Regions from separate parts of the Homo sapiens genome. Here region 1 is linked to region 2. The links are contacts of gene promoters, found by promoter capture Hi-C in human tissues and cell types (Jung and others, 2019). All regions are on one chromosome and are shown on one strand. The core of a region is centred on a gene start or on the middle of the fragment in contact, and the rest is flanking DNA. Distances in the headings are between cores, read along the strand shown. Region 1 overlaps JAK2 (Janus kinase 2). Region 2 holds the start of AK3 (adenylate kinase 3).

What was found. Contacts are between HindIII fragments. The study calls those that stand out against the background at their distance.
Region 1: a fragment that was not itself captured here is called in contact with the fragment with the promoter of AK3 in region 2 in 1 of the 25 tissues and cell types used here (lymphoblastoid cells).

Annotation. Positions count from the first base shown.
Region 1 is chr9:5,071,184-5,077,302 of GRCh38, reverse strand. JAK2 (Janus kinase 2) reads right to left here. Exons shown (of 25, transcript NM_004972.4): 13 at 4,677-4,811; 14 at 3,518-3,605. It also overlaps a transcript of INSL6 not described here. Among named protein-coding and RNA genes, the nearest start is that of JAK2, 89 kb to the right of the region's middle. The HindIII fragment of the contact is 4,435 bases long and covers 370-4,804 here.
Region 2 is chr9:4,739,952-4,742,451 of GRCh38, reverse strand. AK3 (adenylate kinase 3) reads left to right here and starts at 1,250. Exons shown (of 5, transcript NM_016282.4): 1 at 1,250-1,515. The coding sequence starts at 1,365. RefSeq lists silencers at 861-1,350, 1,581-1,720. The HindIII fragment of the contact is 7,449 bases long and covers 1-2,500 here.

The sequences.
Region 1 (6,119 bases), core at 1,338-3,837, 330 kb before region 2:
ACAGCATTATATTTTTGGTTTTTAGTTTACTTACAACAGCAAGAGTAGGAGTCTAAACAATTATATATTATTATATATAACATAAATGTATAATATATAATATACCAGCACACCTTTATATATTAGTACTGAATTATGGCTGGTTTTTAAAAATAAATGAAAATTTCTCAATTTCTCTTCCACATAACTTTTTAGACATTCAAACCTTCCTGAAGTTCTTCTACACACAAAAATTACTAACAATTGTCTATAGTACTATAGACATAAAGGAGAATTTGAGTTCTAGCTCCATTTAATCTTTTAATTCTGCAAAAAATACAGAAATGTTTTGCGCTGCTTTATCTTTAAAACTTTTTTAAAAAAATATATAAAACATATTTTGCCAGAAAAACAAGTGTTGGCTTCCAAAAACAATCCTGGATTCCTTCATGGTCCACAGGAGCCTCTCAGATACCTCCATATAACAGGTTCCAAACCACTGCTTTTGAGAAGATTATCAATTTTCAAAGATATGAAAAAATGTCATACAAGTGTAGATGTGTATTTAATCTGCATTACTAGTGGAAAATAGGGAATTATATAAACAATTTTCTTGAATGTAAACTTTGTGAGGCACTAAAATAAAGGCATACCTCGAAGATATTACCAGTTTGGTTTTAGACTACCATAATAAAGCAAGTCATGAATTTCTTGGTATCCCAATGCATATAAAACTTGTATATACACTATAATGGAGTCTATTTAGTGTGCAACAGCGTTATATCTTAAAAAAAACAAAGAATATATCTTTTTAAAAATACTTTATTGCCAAAAAAGGTGCTAATGATAATCTGAGCCTTCAGAAAGTTGTAATCTTTTTGCTTGATGTTAATCGCTGCTGACTGATCATGGTGGTGGCTGCTTAAAGTTCAGGTAGCTGTGGCAGTTTCTTAAAATAAGACAACAATGAAATTCACTGCAGACTCTTCCTTTCATGAAAGATTTCTCTGTAGCATGCAATGCTGTTTGATAGCCTTCTACCCACAGTAGAACTTTACAGGGTCAGTCCTCTCAAACCCTGCAACTGCTTGATCAATCAAGTTTATGTAAAATTCCAAACCCTTTGTTGTCATTTCACAATGTTCACAGCATCATCACTAGGAGTAGATTCCATCTTAAGAAACCACTTTCTCTGCTTATCCATAAGAAGCAACTCCTCCTTCTTTCAGGGCTTATCGTGAGATTGTAGCAATTGAGTCACATCTTCAAGCTCCACTTCTTAGTTCTCTGTTTCCACCATCTCTGCAGTGACTTCCTTCATTAAAGTACCATATCCCTCAAAGTCATCCAGGAGGGTTAGAATGAACTTTTTCCAAATTCCTATTAATGCTGCCATTTTGATCTCCTTCCATGAACCATGAATGCTATTCCTGGCATCTAGAATGGTGAATCCTTTCCATAAGTTTTTCTACTTACTTTACCCAGATCCACCAGAGGAATCACTATCTATGGCAGCTTAGCCTTACAAAATGTATTTCTTAGATAATAAGACTTGAAAGTTGAAATAACTCCTTGATCCATGGGCTACAGAATGGATGTTGTGTCACCAGGCCTGAAAATAACATGAATATCCTTGTACATCTCCATCAGAGCTCTTGGGTGACCAGGTGCATTGTCAATGATCAGTAATACTTTGAAAGCAATCTTTTTTTCTGAGCAGGTCTCAACAATGGGCTTAAAATAGTCAATAAACCATGCTATAAACAGATGTGCTGTCATCTAGGCTTTCTTGTTCCATGTATAGAGCACAGGCAGAGTAGACTTAGCATAATTCGCAGAGCCCTGGGATTTTTGGAATGGTAAATGAGCGCTGGTTTGAATTTCAAATCACCAATGGCATTGGCCCTTAGCAAGAGGGTCAGCCTGTCCTTCGAAGCTTTGAAGGCAAGCACTGACTTCTCCTCTCTAGCTGTGGAAGTCCTAGATGGCATATTCTTCCAACAGAAGGCTGTTTTGTTTACATTTGAAAATCTGTTTGTTAGTGTCACCATCTTCATCAATGGTCCTTGCTAGATCTTCTGGATAACTTGCTGTAGCTTCCACATCAGCATTTGCTGCTTCACCTTGCACTTATGCTGTGCACATGGCTTCTTTTCTTAAACCTCATGAACCAACCTCTGCTAGCTTCCAACTTTTCTTCTGCAGCTTCCTCACCTCTCTCAGCCTTCATAGAATTTAAGAGCATTAAGATCTTGCTCTAGATTGGGCTTTGGCTCAAGGGAATGTTGTGACTGGTTTGATCTTCTATCTAGAACTTTCTCTGTATCATCAATAAGACTGTTTCACTTTCTTGTAATTTATGTGCTCACAGGAGTAGCACTTTCAGTTTCCTTCAAGGACTTTTCCTTTGGATTCATAACTTGCCTTTTTAGTGCAAGAGGCCTAGCTTTCAGCTTGTCTTGGCTTTCAGCATGCCTTCCTCTCTAAGCCATCTTCATCAATGGTCTTTGCTAGATCTTCTGGATAACTGCTGCAGCTTCCACATCAGCGTTTGCTGCTTCATTTCTAGCTTTCCATTTAAAGTGAGAGACGGGTGAATCTTCCTTTCACTTGAACATTTAAAGACCATTGTGTGATTATTAAATGGCCTAATTTTAATATTGTTGTCTCAGGGAATAGGGAGGCCCCAGGAGAGGGAGAGAGACAGAGGAATGGCTCATTGATGGAGCAGTCAGAGCACACACTGCATTCATCTATGAAGTTTGCCTTCTTATATTCTCTCTGTTTGGGACACCCCAGAATAATTACAATACTAGCATTAAAGATTACTGATCACAGATCACCATATGATTTTTTTAAAGTTTGAAATGTTGCTAGAATTACCAAAATATGACACAGAGACATGAAATGAGCACATGCTGTTGGGAAAATGTTGCTGACAGAGTTGCTAGACACTGGGTTGCCGTAAACCTTCAATATGTAAAAAATACAATATCTAAGAAGCACAATAAAGCAAGGTGCAATAAAATGAGGCATGCCTGTATAGTATTAAAGCATGGGGTACGATTTATACTTTTAGTAGTTTCTGTGAACACCTAAATTTAGCCAAAAAATATATCTAGTATCATATCAACATAATCATTTCTGTCAGTTCCATTAAAAATTAAGTGTATCATTTATATGCTTTGTCTTCATAATTCCAGATAAGTTTGTACTGAAAAGGCCAGTTATTCCAATGTTATGTTGAACCTGCCATAATCTCTTTTGCTATCATGAACACAAAATGTTTTATAGACATTTGTTTACTATAATACTCTATTGTTTGGGCATTGTAACCTTCTACTTTTAACTTCATTGCTTTCCTTTTTCACAAGATATAACTGAATAGTCCTACAGTGTTTTCAGTTTCAAAAATACTTAACTCCTGTTAAATTATAGTTTACACTGACACCTAGCTGTGATCCTGAAACTGAATTTTCTATATAAACAAAAACAGATGCTCTGAGAAAGGCATTAGAAAGCCTGTAGTTTTACTTACTCTCGTCTCCACAGACACATACTCCATAATTTAAAACCAAATGCTTGTGAGAAAGCTTGCTCATCATACTTGCTGCTTCAAAGAAAGACTAAGGAAAAAAAAAAGTACAAAGAATTGTTGTTTGACTGTTGTCCATAAATAGTTCAGAAAATTCTCTCTGCCATAATAAAGATGCACTTTCTCCTACTTTCAGCATGACTATAGATGAGGATACAATGTGCTTTGGTCCCTTTATATGGACCTGCAACTGCCATCAACGTTCTGAGGAAACCCCTGTGTAAGCCTGGAATATGGAGATCAAAGTGAGAGAGAGCAAGAGTGGTACAGGAATCATGAATAATGCCAGTCAAACAGGCTTGACCCATAACACCTGAAATAGAGGACAGAAGTACAACTAGAGGTAGATGTCAGAGATAGATATAGGAAACTGAGGTAGATGGATGTAGCCTTTAAATAACACTTGCTAAAGAATTAAGAATGTGCAGATAAAATATCACGACATCTGTGTCAGGATACTAGCATAGTTTTAACATCACTCTAATTCAACTAAACTGTGACTAGAACCCCTGGGTATGATTAGTGAATCACAATCACCAATACTGTGGTATTCTGGATTAGAACAACTCTTTGGCTTGAACTTTTCACATCATCTTCTAACACCAACACCCTTTAAGATATTGTAAGTATCATATCTTGCTATGTTCAGAGCTCTGGCAACTGGCCACGGGGTCTGCCAGCTAGCATCTCTGGATGATGCCCAGAGGCATCTAGATTTCACTAAGCATGTTCCTTAGTACAGTGCCTTTGAAACTTGGTTTTTTGTTTTTTTTTCAAATAAATGTAATTGTAGAGGAGCCTCTGTGTAACCCATAAAGCTCTGGGGAGCCAAGTTTGAAAATCAAGGCCACAGTATATGCAGAAATGTAATAACACTCCTAACATAATGCTAAACATAATTAGTTTGGAATTAATTTTTTTAATCCGGTAATTTTCAAACCCTGTAATTCTATAGCCCCACAAGAATGTATCCTCAGAAAAGTCCTTGACACATTTAAAAATTACAATTTTGAAAAGCTGCACACATGAGTACGTTGTATGCATATGAGAGCACATCTTTAAACAGCATAAACTACATGAACAATATAAAGAACATACACACCTCTGAATAGTTTCTGTGTGCTTTATCCAGAACTTTTAAAAGAACTTCTGTTTCATGCAGTTGACCGTAGTCTCCTACTTCTCTTCGTACGCCTTTAAAAATCTTTGTAAAAGTGCCTTGGCCAAGGCTTTCATTCTTCAAGAGAAAAAGGTAAAAGAAAAGAATGAGTAAAGATGGAGAACGAAGTAGGAACAAGAAAATACATTCAATGAGGAAGAATTTTTTTAAATCCATAAGCAAGTATTTTCCTTAGAATCTAAATCCAGATTTAAGACTCCAAATTAATGCTTTTATTCTGCTTCCTTAAATAGTAATAAGAGACAGAAAACAAGGATTAATGAATTAAGTGTATTTTGGCTCTACTCGGTTTTGAAATCTCCTGAATGGGCTATAATTGTCACTTTTTAAAAATAGAGTCAGTGTTTACCTACATTTGCTTACATGGGAATCATTTTCTTTGCCTTTCCTACTAGCACACTAGAGAATGTGGTCTGCAGAGGCAGAATATCTGACTTTCTCTTATTACCACTTGTATGACCTTGTACAGGCTATTTAATCTCTGTGCTGCAGCTGTCGTGGTTTCTTCATCTGAAAAATGAGAATAATAACTATTTTCCCATAGGATTGTTATGATCAATAAGTGAATAAATACATAAAAGCACTTAGCACAGTCCATGACACATAGTAAATGTGCATTAAGTATCAGCTATTACTACTAATACTAGTATTTCTTGCATATCTTTACAAAGTAATTGTTGAAAGCCTGCACTCTGCAGTAAGGCTGCTTGTGTTCAAATCCAAGGTCTACTATTTATTAGATTTGTAATGTTAGTCAAGTTACCTGGCCACTCTGTTTCCTGTTACTCACATGAAGATGCTTGTCTTTACCATTCTGGCTAATTCTATCTATTGTCTCCTTATAGAGCTCAGATATGAGTTGGGTCTTTCTCATTTTGCCTTCCATGCCACTTAATCCCTCTTTCATATAATCCATTTCTTTCTCCCTAACTGCTGCATTCTTAATTTCTTCAGATCTGTCTTGAGGTTCACTACATCTCTCTTCAGCTATAAGTAATTTACTTTTCATCCTGTATATTCTGTTTTAATGTCAATGAGGATATTTATCATTTCTATGCCTTTTTCCTGACATCTTTTTTGTTTGTTAAAACAATGTCTTGTTATTTCTCCGTGGTTTCAATTCCTTTTCTATCTTTAAACATGTATATGTATTTTATAGTCTGTATCTGAAAATTCTGTGATAGGAAGTTCCTGGAGTTCTAATTTTGATGTTTGTTGGTCTACTGACTCTTAATTAATCCTGCATTATTTCCTTGTATGTTTCTAAATTTTCTATTAAAAGCTTGTGTTTGCAATGCTTTTATCTGTGGGAATTATGGGTTGCCTAGGTTAAGAGTATGTGGTTCCGAAAAGATTTTTTTGTTT
Region 2 (2,500 bases), core at 1-2,500:
ATCAGTTCTGGACCTCTGAGGAGAATGGTAACTGTGTTTTATTTTCAGAGAGCCTTCTTTCTGCCTTAGCATAGTGTCCGGGACAAAGCAATGATGATAAATGGACAACCATTATTGAACATTGACCCCGTAGCTGGCATTGCACTAAGTACTACATTATTTTAACTCCTCCATTCTACTCCTCTATGCCCATTTTACAGGCAAAATGATACTCACTCGAACGTTTTTGTCCTCTGTTTCCATTCTTGAAACATGCCAAACCTCCAGTTTTAGGGCCTTTTCCTAAAACTGGACATAGGAAGGGCCCATGTCTCTCTCTTCCATATTCTAATTAAGCACTCAGCACACATGCCATCTCTTCAAAGCTTTTCCGACCGCCTATCTACAACAGCCTGCCTCCACAGTTTCACACACTCTTTTACGTTATTTATAAAAGAGTCTCACTCAATGGAAGCTGGATTTCCTCTCCTGTAAAATGAGGTAGGCCCTCTCGGCTCAAGGTCACTCCCTGTGATTCTACACAGAGAGGGAGTGGGAAGAGAGGGCGCTCGGCAGCAGAGGAGGAGGAGGAAGGAGGGAAGGGCGAAGGCGGGAGTGGGTGCAGAAGCGGGGGGTCTGGCGGTCCAGGGGGGTAGAAGGGAGGGGCGGATTCGAGTGGGCGCCAGGTGGAGGTGGGGCCAGGGTTGTCAAGGGAGCACGAAAGGGGTCGCGGTGTGTCCGGCAAGGACTGGGTAGGGCAGCGCCTGCTATGGACTAGGGGCGAGGGCTACGAAAGGGTTGTTGGAGGGGTGGATGCGGGTGGATCCCGAAACCAAGCGGCTCCGAGGGGCGACTAGAGGTGGGGAGGGGGCGCGCAGGAGTTGCCAAGGTCGGACAGAGGGGAGCGCGGTCTATCCGGCTGGGAATGGGCCGGACAGGGCGCGGGGTTCCGGGGTCGCGGAGAGGCGCGGAGGTAGATCTGAGCCGAGTGGAGGGCGCGTGGGGGTGGGTGCAGAGGGGCGCCGAAGGGATCCGGGCCCAGCGGCCGGTGGAGAGGGGCCGCGGAGAGGCGCAGGTGGGAGCTGGGCGGCCGAGCGAGCGCAGAGGGGGCGCGGCTTGCGCGGCTTGCGCGGCTGGGCGGGAACAGGCGCTCGGTCGGGGGCGGGGGGTGCGCCGGGGTAGCCGAGAGGCGGACGCAACAGCGGGGTCCCGCGCTGTCTGGGCGGCCCCAGGGGCTGTCGGCTCACTTCCGGGAACGCCGGGGAACCGCAGTAGCCGCCTGCTAGTGGCGCTGCTAGCCGGCCGGCGCAGGCTGCCGAGCGGGTGAGCGCGCAGGCCAGGCCAAAGCCCTGGTACCCGCGCGGTGCGGGCCTCAGTCTGCGGCCATGGGGGCGTCCGCGCGGCTGCTGCGAGCGGTGATCATGGGGGCCCCGGGCTCGGGCAAGGGCACCGTGTCGTCGCGCATCACTACACACTTCGAGCTGAAGCACCTCTCCAGCGGGGACCTGCTCCGGGACAACATGCTGCGGGGCACAGGTGGGAGCTCTGGGCCCAGGGCCGGCCGTGCGCTGTCACCCGGGTCGGACTTCGCGGGCGAGGGGCCGAAGCTGGGCACGCGGGTCCCTGGCTGCGGGCGCGGCATTTCCCTCCCGCCGCCCGGGACAGAGACCTCGGGCTGCTGAGCGACTGCGCCCCAAAACCTCCGGCCTCCGTGGGCCGCTTCGGGCGGGTTATGGGGTGGCGGTGGGGGAAGGGACTGGAAAGTTAGGTCGAGCTCGAAGTTCAGAGATGAAAGGAAACCACCGGGCTTTGTTTCAGAGGCCCAAGTCCTCCCAGTGGCAGCCACTCTTGGGGGTCCATCGAGCTGAGCCGCAGCTTGTTCAACGTGCTGGTGCCTTTGGAAGACTGTCATTAGCCCTGCTAGAGTCTGCTCGTTCTGTTTTGTTTTCTTTGTTTCTTTCTTTTCTCTTTCTTTTTTGGTGTGGTTAAGCTCTATGAGATCTTGTAGTTCTGACCTTTCCCCCATATTCCCAAGGCCAAGTATTATTTACCCTTGTTGCAGTCATAAAATTATCTCATTTTGATATCCTTAGATTTCGTAGACACGAAGGCTATTCTTGTGCATGGTTCTATAAAATATTTTGTTTCTCATGCCAAATAAATTCTTACAGCTCGGCACGAAAGGCAGTTAACAATCTACACTATACAATGGGTGAATTTGTGGTATGTAAATTCTCTCTTAAGAGGGTTGTTTTTGAAAAGCCAATCGCAGGAGTTTTTTTCTCAAAAAATGTTGACCTTACTTTTCAAAATAGAACCCGTTTTGAAACTCATTTTGAAACCCATTTACATAGAAATAATGCTTCCACAAGGCCTTTTTCTTTTGTTTTCCTTCTTTTTTTTTTTTTTTTTGTAAGGATAGCAAACAGGATAGACGTGCATAGCATAAAAAACAACGCCCTCTTTCGTTCCCTACCTCAGTCCCATTCTTCGGAGGGGAACAGAGTTTTCCTTCTAGAAA